Regions from separate parts of the Homo sapiens genome. Here region 2 is linked to region 1. Evidence: promoter capture Hi-C in 16 types of primary human blood cells and fetal thymus (Javierre and others, 2016). All regions are on one chromosome and are shown on one strand. Each heading gives the region's core, a stretch centred on a gene start or on the middle of the fragment in contact. The rest is flanking DNA. Distances are from core to core; before and after follow the strand shown.

Region 1 (4,984 bases), core at 1,474-3,973:
CCAAGGCAGGAGGATGTCTTGAGCCCAGGAGCATAAGACCACCCTGAGCAACATGGCAAAACCCTGTCTCTACAAAAAAAAATTTTTTTTTTTTAATTAGCCAGGCATGGCTGGGTGTGGTGGCTCACGCCTATAGCCCCAGCACTTTGAGAGACTGAGATGGGTGGATCACTTGAGGTCAGGAGTTTGAGACCAGCCTGGTCAACATGGTGAAACCCCATCTCTACTAAAAATATAAAAATTAGCCAGGCATGGTGGCATATGCCTGTAATCCCAGCTACTCGGGAGGCTGAGAATCACCTGAACCCAGGAGGCAGAGGTTACAGTGAGCCGAGATTTTGCTACTGCACTCCAGCCTGGGTGACAGAGTGAGACTTTGTCTCAAAAAATAAAACATAAAACATAAAAAAAAAAGTTAGCCAGGCATGATATGTGATGGCAGGTGCCTGTAGTCCTAGCTACTTGGGAGGCTGATGAGAGGGGATTGCTTGAGTCCAGTCGTTCAAGGCTACAGTGAGTTATGATCACATTACTATAACAGAGCGAGACTCTCTTAAAAAAAAAAAAAGGCAAACTAATGTCTACCTTTATCAACAGAAACAGCTCCAAATAATGATGGACTGATCAAGAAGCTGGTACCAAGAAGTCTCAAAGTTATTTCAACAGCTTCATGGAGTGTTTAGAAACTTCCCAGCTGTAAATAAAAACTACCTTAAATTGCTTGCCTCCTACTCTTTCTCCCTATAATCTGTAATGTTGTGGTCCAAAAAAAGAATTGATTCCACTGTCTTGTATTTCCAGTGAACTTCCAAGCTTCCTCACAGGCTGTGTTAAAGTTTTCCCATTTATAAGCCAATCTTGCCAGAAGAGGCTCTGGAACTCAAATGGGTTACTGCCAGAAGAATCTGGGACAGCTGCACTAGTGTTATATTTCAACCATGTACCCAATCTATGAACTGCTTCCACCAAATGTGAGTGATTTTTTCCTAGCACTTGTTTCCGCTTTCACAAAACACTTTTGGATTTGAAAATGTTTCTGCCTTCTACCCTTTTAAAAAAATGAGATATGAATATGTACATTTATATCTATATATATTTATACTAATTTTTTTTTCTTTGAGACAGGGTCACTCTGTCACCCAAGCTGGAGTGCAGTGGCACAATCACGGCTCACTGCAGCCACAGCCTCCTAGGCTCAAGTGATCCTCCCACTTCAGACTTCTGAGTAGCTGGGACTACAGGTATGCGCCACCATACCTGGCTAATTTTTTAAATTTTTTTGTAGAGACAGGGTCTTGCTATGTTGCCCAGTGTGGTGTGGAACTCTTGGCCTCAAGCAATCCTCCCACCTCAGCCTCCCAAAGTGGTGAGATTACAAACATGAGCCACTGTGCCCCACCTCATGGTACATTTTGATTCTATTACTAGCCTTTCAAAATTGGTTTTGAGAATAACAAAGAACCCATTTTTCTAACCTGTCCATTGTAATAAATGCCAGAGGATAAAGCCTTTGATGGACAGACAGGTGGCTCTCACAGTAGCAATCAGGTATCCAGGATCTCCTCTAATCCATGAATGCAGAGACAACTCTAGCTTCTACAGCATTTAGTGATGATTCAAGTAAATTTTATTTTTAAGCTTGTATTTAAAAGGAAACAATTTGTTAGACAGCCACAGGTAGCACCTACAACCAATTTAATCTGTAATAACCAGTCTAATAAGTGTGTATGTTGGAGGTGTGGGAAGTGAAGATGAAGGCAGCAGAAATGATCAGGTTGAAAAAGTGGACATCTGGGTGACTTACTATGTAAACATAGCTTAAAGTACACATTTCTGAATACCTTGCTTCTAACAGGCTAAGGACTAAGTTTCTCTCTCTTCGTTAAAGCTCTGATCTCTCTCATACCCTCCTTCCCACCACCAATGATTACTGTAAATACTGTAATGGATCAAGCACGACGTTTGCTTCAGTTCTGCGTGGGCATGAAAAGACTTCTACCACCAGCTTACCTTTTATGGACTCCTACATCCATATAAGAATCAAAAGGGCACTTCCTGCAGGCTTCTGTCATGGGACAGCCCTGGGAACTGCCTTGTAATAGGCACAGACCTCCCAAGAGCATTTTAATACCCCCAGTGAACACTGTAAACGGATGGAAATGGAATTGGTCGTCAGATATTTATGATAACATTCCCATTCTGACATTTCAATGCCTTCGGAAGAACCCTCCTCGGCTCACTCACAAGCATCGGAGAGGGCCTTGTCCCCAAGAATACGAGAAAGCCCTTCCTCTCTGTGTACCTGCAGCTTTCAGGCTTCCCACACCTGGTTGGGGAGCAACCTCCTTCCCCCGCCGCCCAGATATCAGAGGAGTATACCTCTCCCAGGTGAGACCACTGAGCCTCTGGGATACCCGGTAGGGGAGGGAGGGTGCAAAGTACTGACAGGTCCTCAGATGCTGGCCAGAGGCTGAAGGAATGTGTCCAGGCTACTCACCAGGAAAGCAGAGAGGATCCCCTGCAGAGCGTCCAGCTTCTCTTCTTCCTCCTCCTCCTGCAGGATACCCAAGATGTAGGCTCCATAAACGGCTCGGTCCACTCCCAGTGCCTCCAACCGTCCGTCCAGCCAGGAGCCAAAGCCGCCGCCTCCGCCATCGCCTTCGCCAGGGGCTATCGCGGCCACTTCGCTGGGCGCCGCCATCTTGGGGTCAGGGTCCTGCAAGCCCCTAGGGCGCCTACCGCAGTGCCTGACGGGCCGCGCCGCAGGTCCACCGCGCATGCCTGAAGAGGAAGCCCAGGCCCGTAAGTGCAAAGAGCGCAGCCGTGTCGGCCGGCTTGAGAGTTTTGTGCTTTCTAGATGAAGCGCGTCTTCGCATACGTGCGGTCGCGTGATCTCACAAGATGCTTGGCATGTGAGTATTCTTAACAGACTCATTCTACAGTTCGGGAAGTTGAGAGAGGTGCAGTAATTTGGCCAAAGTCACGCGGCTAATAACTACCCAGGACTGGAGCTCAGCGTGGATGCCATCGCTTCCTCCACCCGACCGAGCTGCCTTCCCCGCGCTTTCGGGGGATGCTGGCCGCCCACTCCCACACAGCTGTCTGGCAAGAACCTCCTGACAGCCTGGAATACCCTCGTCGTCGCTACCGACGGCTACCACCTTCACCTGTACAAGCCCTTCCCTGTCAAAGTAAAGGTTGCAGAAAACCTTCCCTGATTCCATGGTAGGCACTCAGTAAATAAACAGGCAACCTCAAGTTATTTCTTCCACTCATTGATTCAACGCGTGCACGGGACTATTCTTTGAGAAGCGTACCCCACCCTCTGCTAGGCACTGTGCCAAAAGCTTTTCATGCATTATCTCTTGTAATCCTCCCTACAGCCCTGTGGGGAGATGCTTTTATTGTCCACATTTTAAAGATAAGGAGACAGGCCGGGCGCCATGTCTCACGCCTGTAATCCCAACAGTTTGGGAAGCCGAGGCGGGTGGATCACCTGAGGTCAGGAGTTCGAGACCAGCCTGGCCGACATGGTGAAACCCCGTCTCTAGTAAAAATACAAAAATAAGGCCGGGCACGGTGGCTCACTCCCGTAATCCCAGCACTTTGGAAGGCCAAAGTGGGCAGCTCACCTGAGGTCTGGAGTTCGAGACTAGCCTGACCAAAATGGAGAACCCCCGTCTCTACTAAAAATACAAAATTAGCCGGGCGTGGTGGGACATGCCTGTAATCCCAGCTACGTGGGAGGCTGAGGCAGGAGAATCGCTTGAACCCAGGAGGCGGAGGTTGCGGTGAGCAGAGATCGTGCCATTGCACTCCAGCCTGGGCAACAAGAGCGAAATTCCGTCTCAAAACAAACAACAACAACAACAAAAGCCAGGTGTGGTGGCGCGGGCCTGTAATCCCAGCTACTCAGAATCGCTGGAACCCGGAAGGCGGAGGTTGCAGTGAGCCAAGATCGCGCCGCTGCACTCCAGCCTGAGCGACAGTGAGACTCCATCTCAAAAACAAACAAACAAACGAACAAACAAAATCACTAAAGATAAGGAGACAGATATGGAGAGAGTCACACAACTAGAGGGCGCCTAACCAGTGGCAAGAACTCTTCTTTGGCAGAGTTATGAGAGCTTCAGCTGACGTCAAAACACCTGGCTCTGGGCTGGAATGAATTACCCAAGAATTTGGTTGGCTTTAGCTGAAGTGCAGAGGAAGCTGGCAAGGTCCTGGCTAACTCCTTCCTCAAATATGTACTGAGTACCTTCAGTATGGCATTGTTGCTGGCACTGAAAACACAAAAATGAATGTCACAAAATATATGTCCTCAGGGGTTTTTAATCCATTAGGAACAGACATGTTTAAACAAATGATGACAATATAGTGATATAAATGTTTTAATGGAGCTTTATCTAGCGGAGATTGCAGTAGGATGCCTAGAAGATTGAGTTAACTTTACCTGTTGGAGTGGAGTTGGAAGCAGGTGGGGAGAGGTTCATAGGAAATCCAGGAAGGCTTCCCAGTGGAGATGATGCTTGAACTTTCTTGAAGAATGGTAGGAGTTCTTTACATAAAGGGACTGGAGGGAAAAAGGGGGTAGATCCAGATGCAGGGGAACTGTGAATTCAAAGGCTTGCTAGGGGGCCTCCAGAGAGTCATGTATGGCTTGAGCTACAGGATTCAAATAGAAGATATTCAGGGGATAACAACAAAAAAAGAAGGAAAGGAGTTTGTATACCTTGCAGAGGTCCTCTTATTGCAGAGGTCTACCCTTAGTGGCATTGGGATTATGTAAATGAATGGACACTAAATGAATGGCACAGATACAAATGTAAGAAATATGGCAGAGTGTGAATTTTAGTTGCGTGGCTTCTGTGTGCTCGCTGAGTTAGATAGAATGTGACACTAACAGAGTCAGAGGCCAGAGTCAGCCTCCAAAGGCTTGCCTCTTTTTCAAGTCCTCAGTTATTCTTTCTAATCTAGTAGCTGT
Region 2 (4,984 bases), core at 1,052-3,551, 140 kb before region 1:
CTTGTGACATCCTCATGTTGGCTAGAATCTCTGCTGGCCCAAACACCTCTTCTCAGTCTCCTTCCTTATTGGCCCCAGGGCCTTTAAATGTTGACATCCCCAAAGCTTTGGCCTTCCCACCCTATCCATCTTCCCTAGGTGATCTTAGCCATGCTCATACCATCAGACATAGGCTGAAGGTGCCAGATCTAAATCTAGCCCAGAGTTCTGACCTGAGCACTGAGTTAGATTATTCGCCTGCCTTCTGGACACCTTCTCTTGGATGTGCCATAGGACCAGGCTTGCATGACTGCACTCATTATCTGCCCTTTCCCTGCATTTCCCAGCCTGGTTAATAGCATTAGGGCACCTAGGTCAGAGCCTTGGTTGATCTCGTCCCTTACTCTCTCTCCTTACCATCTGCACTGTCACATCTCAGTTCCTGCCGTCACCATTTCTTGCCTGGTCTCTTGTGATCAATCTGTAACTGGTATCTCAGGCTCCCGGCATGATGCTCCTCAAAACTGCCCAAATGCACTAGTTAAAATGCAAATGTGACCTCTTCCTTTCCCAAAATTCTCCAGTATATCCTCATCTCCAGGAGCCCAGACCGTGTGCAAGGTATCCAAGATCTCTGACTACTTAAAGCCTCCTCTGCCGTCGTTCTCCTAGATGCACGTGGGACTCTCACAGGGCCAAAGTCTTGCGCTGCCTCCCTACTCCATCTATTTCACCCCACCACGCCCTTGCACACAATGTTCCCTCTGTCTGGAATGCCTGTCCCTCCCTTGTCTGTTTACATGTCTGTTTCCCTGTTAGATTGTGAGTTCATGTTTCTACATCCAACACCTCACACGTGATCTGTGAGGCCCTGCAACTCTGATCCCTGCTGGCCTCTTTACCTCGTCCTACTTTGCTCCTCACTCCAACCACACAGCCTCTCTTGCCCTCCCCGACTCAGTCAGATTCCCTCCCCAATTATGCTTTCAAAGAACTACGGATCTTCCCTTCACAGCACTGAATCCCATGGCACTTTTACATCCATGTCAGTGACTGTGCAGTCAACGTGAGTGTCTCCCACTAGGACATGAGCTCCATAGGAACAAAGGGTTGGGTCTGGTATTCAGTGTAATTTTTTTTTTTTTTAAGAGATGAGGCCGGGCATGGTGGCTCACACCTGTAATCCCAGCACTTTGGGAGGTCGAGGTGGGCAGATCATGAGGTCAGGAGTTTGAGACCAGCTTTGCCAATATAGTGAAACTCCGTCTCTACTAAAAATACAAAAATTAGCTGGGTGTGGTGGTGCGCGCCTGTAATCCCAGCTACTCAGGAGGCTGAGGTAGGAGAATCGCTTGAACCCAGGAGGTGGAGGTTGCAGTGAGCTGAGATCGCACCACTGTACTTGGCGACAGAGTGAGACTCTGTCTCAAAAAAAAAAAAAAAAAAAAAAAAGAAATGAGTTCTGGCTATGTTGCCCAGGCTGGTTCCAAACTCCTGACCTCAAGTGACCCTCCTGCCTCAGCCTCCCAAAGTGGAATTACAAGCATGAGCCACCGTGCCTGGCCATAAATTTGTTAAGTGAATAAGAGCACACAATTCTTACAGATATTAGGGGCTATGTGATGCAGGAGACAGAACACAGCTTTAAGAGCCAAACAGGCCTGGGTTTTAATCTCACCCCTGCCACATACTATGTGACTTTGGGAAAGTTGCCAGATCTCACCTAAGGTGGATTCTTCATCTATAAACAAAAAACAATACCCACTTTGTAGGCATATACATGTGCAGAACTTAGCAGGAGCTCAAAAAATGGTAGCAATTGGCCGGGCGCAGTGGCTCACGCCTGTAATCCCAGCACTTTGAGAGGCCGAGGTGGGTGGATCACAAGGTCAGGAGTTCGAGACCAGCCTGACCAACATGGTGAAACCCTGTCTCTACTAATAATACAAAAATTAGCCAGGCATGGTGGTGCCCGGCTGTAATCCCTGCTACTTGGGAGGCTGAGAGAGGAGAATTGCTTGAACCTGGGAGGTGAAGGTTGCAGTGAGCCAAGATTGTGCCACTGTACTCCAGCCTGGGCGACAGAGCGAGACTCCGTCTAAAAAAAAAAGGGTAGCCATTACCCTAGGTCTCCCAGGATGCCTGCTGAATAAATATTTAATTCAACGTAACTTCTTGTTTTAAAAGGCGCTTTATGATTATGAAATGTATTTTTGTCATTCTGAAATTATTTTGGATGTGGAGTCTCACATTTTTAAAATCTGTTGGTTTCCTACTTGGCAGATGGGAAAACTGAGGTTCAAAGAAGTAAAGTGACTGTTCCAAGGCTGTATAGTTAGTGGCAGAGTTACAAATGGGTCCAAGTCAATGACCAAGCTAATTTATTTATTTATTTAGAGGTCTCACTCTGTTGCCTGGGCTGGAGCACAGTGGCATGATGACAGCTCACTGTAGCCTCAACCTCCTGGGCTCAAGCAATTCTCCCACCTCAGCCTCCCAAGTAGCTGGGACCACAGGCATGCACCACCATGCCCAGCTAATGTTTTAAAATTTTTGTAGAGACAGGGGTCTCACTTCTTGTCCCAGCTGGTCTCAAATCTGGCTTCAAGCAATCCTCCTGCCTTGGCCTCTCAAAGTGCTGGGATTAAAGGCATGAGCCATTGCATCCTGCCCAAGCTAATTTTTAAAAACTCAGAAATAAATGCTGTATCTATCAAATAACAAATTACATCCTTTAGTTACAGGGCTCCTGTACTCAAGAGGCAGGTTGGCAGAATGAGAAGTGCTGTAGGTAGGCCTGTAATCTGAAGATGCAGGTTCTGGTCCTGTTCACACTCAGGTCCCTCACGTGAAAGGCAAGAGTAAACATGAAATACCGTGATTTCTCCTTATTTCATGTACAAATGCTAGACAAGTGTAACATCTTTGTGGAATCACTTTTCTTCTGGGCTACTATAAACTCTTTTTTTTTTTTTTTTTTGAGACAGAGTCTCGCTGTGTTGCCCAGGCTGGAGTGCAGTGGCGCGACCTCAGCTCACTTCAGCCTCCGACTCCCGGGTTCAAGCCTCAGCTCCTGCCTCAGCCTCCTGAGTAGCTGGGACTACAGGCATGCACCACCATGCCCAGCTAATTTTTGTATTTTTTGTAGAGACGGGGTTTCACTATGTTGGCCAGGCTGGTCTCAAACTCCTGATCTCAGGTGATTGCCCGCCTTGGCCTCCAAAAGTGCTGGATTATAGGCATGAGCCACTGCCCCCGGCCTACTATAAATTTTTGAAGGGCAGATGCTGTCATCTTTTTCCACATTCTCCATAGCCCCTATTATGGTGGTTTGAAATAAGAAAAAAAGTGTGTTGAAGGAATGAAAGGTTGCCTGAGTGAATGGAAGAATGTCCTCTATTTCCTGTTTCCAGCTCCCCAGCTCCCCATCTGCCTTGGGGTGGCTGGGAGGGGATAACTGTCATTCAGACCTGGCCCTAGGCCAGGAAAACGGGTTTGTCATGGAAGGAAATTGAAGATGCTGCGTTTACATTGGAGATTTGCTCTCAATTTCCTATCGGACTGCGAGCTTCCTGAATGGGGTATAGGAGCCTGTCATTCATTTTTGTTTCCACTGCTCAGCTTCCATGTTTGGTACCGGCTCTCAAGATGCTTTGAGATGGACTAGGCAGGAGATCTGAGGATCAAAAGCTCAGGCTCAAATGGAGCAGAGAGAGCACAACATTCCCATCCTTAGACTGCTCTGAGAGAAAATGGGCTTGCTGGTGGAATAGAGATGGGTGGGCTGGAAATGGGATGCACAAAAAAAGGCATATCCCCCTCGACACCCACTCATGCCCCAATTTTGAAGGAAAATTTTCATCCTGGTGTAGGGAAAAGGCAAATTCCCCAGGATGTAATAAGGAACATTTTCAAGTTGTAAGAAACCGGAACATCTTTATATCATTCATTCGATCAGGAAAAAAAAATTTTTTTTTGAATCCTGTCAAACCTGGATCCCTTTGTATCCATCTACTTAGAATATTTTTTCCTTCTCCCTACTCCTTTCCTCTTTTTGTTATTTTTCTTCTTCTGCTGTTGTTGTTTAAAACAATTCTTTTCTATATTGGAGCAAGAAACATTTCACCAGACTGTGAGGATTTGGCCCATACTGTGAAGCAAAGGGGCTTTCTAAACTCAATTTTCTTTCTTCTTTTTAAGTCCCCCCTTTCCCCTGTCCCTCGGGAGAGACAACAGAAAATAATTGATCCATCATCCAGTATCAGGCCCAGGAGATTTACATGCAAATTCCTCCTCGACCCCTTTCCAAATTTAAAATCCTAGAAGGGAAAAGAAAAATTCTAAAAGTAGCAGGAACCCTGCTGGCCACACCCCACCCCTTACCAGGTGAGAGATGTGGAGGGGATAATTCACCACAACCCCCCAGTTTCCTCCCGCGTCACACACGCCACCCCTCTCTGGTGTGGAACCACTTAAGATTTGGGTAAAACTCCCCTCTCGCCCTGGAGACGGGATCTGGAAGCTTTTAGGGGGCGGAGGTAGAGGTGGGGAGGCAGAAGGAAAATTCCCTCAAACGTTCGTCAGGCCTAAGAGAGTCGTCCCTTCACTCAAAATTGCCCGTCACCCCCCGCCCCCCACCATTAACTTTCGATTAAGACCTCCTCCTTAGGGCAACTAAACTTTACTTTGCACAATTAAGATTTGCCGCAGAAGAAGCGGGAGGGAGAAGCCGCAGCTCCGGGCCATTCTCCTTTCCCTCGCTCCCTCCAAGCCCCCCGCCCCAACCCTCCAGCTCCGGGCCTCCGAGTTCCTGAGTTTTCTCACTTTGAGGTGCCACCGAACACAAAGAACCATAATGGGCTCCTTTGTGTTGGCTACGGGGCAATTACGCCTCGGAGTCCTGGTCCCTTTAAGAGTCTCTTAAAGAGACAGGATCCCATTTTTCAGAGGGTTTTTTAAGGGTGTGTGGAGGGGGAGGGCGAGGGATCTACGTGTAAAGTGAAGT

What was found. Contacts are between HindIII fragments. The CHiCAGO score rates a contact against its expected background, and 5 or more counts as called.
Region 2: a fragment that was not itself captured here is called in contact with the fragment with the promoter of CCDC43 in region 1 in 1 of 17 cell types (megakaryocytes); the score reaches 5.2 in megakaryocytes.

The regions. Positions count from the first base shown.
Region 1 is chr17:44,687,053-44,692,036 of GRCh38, forward strand. CCDC43 (coiled-coil domain containing 43) reads right to left here and starts at 2,724. Exons shown (of 5, transcript NM_144609.3): 1 at 2,498-2,724. The coding sequence starts at 2,701. LOC105371792 (a long non-coding RNA gene) reads left to right here. Exons shown (of 4, transcript XR_007065769.1): 2 at 802-971; 3 at 1,126-1,241; 4 at 1,889-1,961. It overlaps LOC124904010 (a long non-coding RNA gene), which reads left to right and starts at 2,729. Exons shown (of 2, transcript XR_007065770.1): 1 at 2,729-2,802; 2 at 2,943-3,258. RefSeq lists enhancers at 2,457-3,046, 2,715-2,854. The HindIII fragment of the contact is 1,709 bases long and covers 1,637-3,345 here.
Region 2 is chr17:44,551,818-44,556,801 of GRCh38, forward strand. No RefSeq gene overlaps it. Among named protein-coding and RNA genes, the nearest start is that of FZD2, 3.2 kb to the right of the region's middle. RefSeq lists enhancers at 4,162-4,931, 4,932-4,984. The HindIII fragment of the contact is 4,396 bases long and covers 104-4,499 here.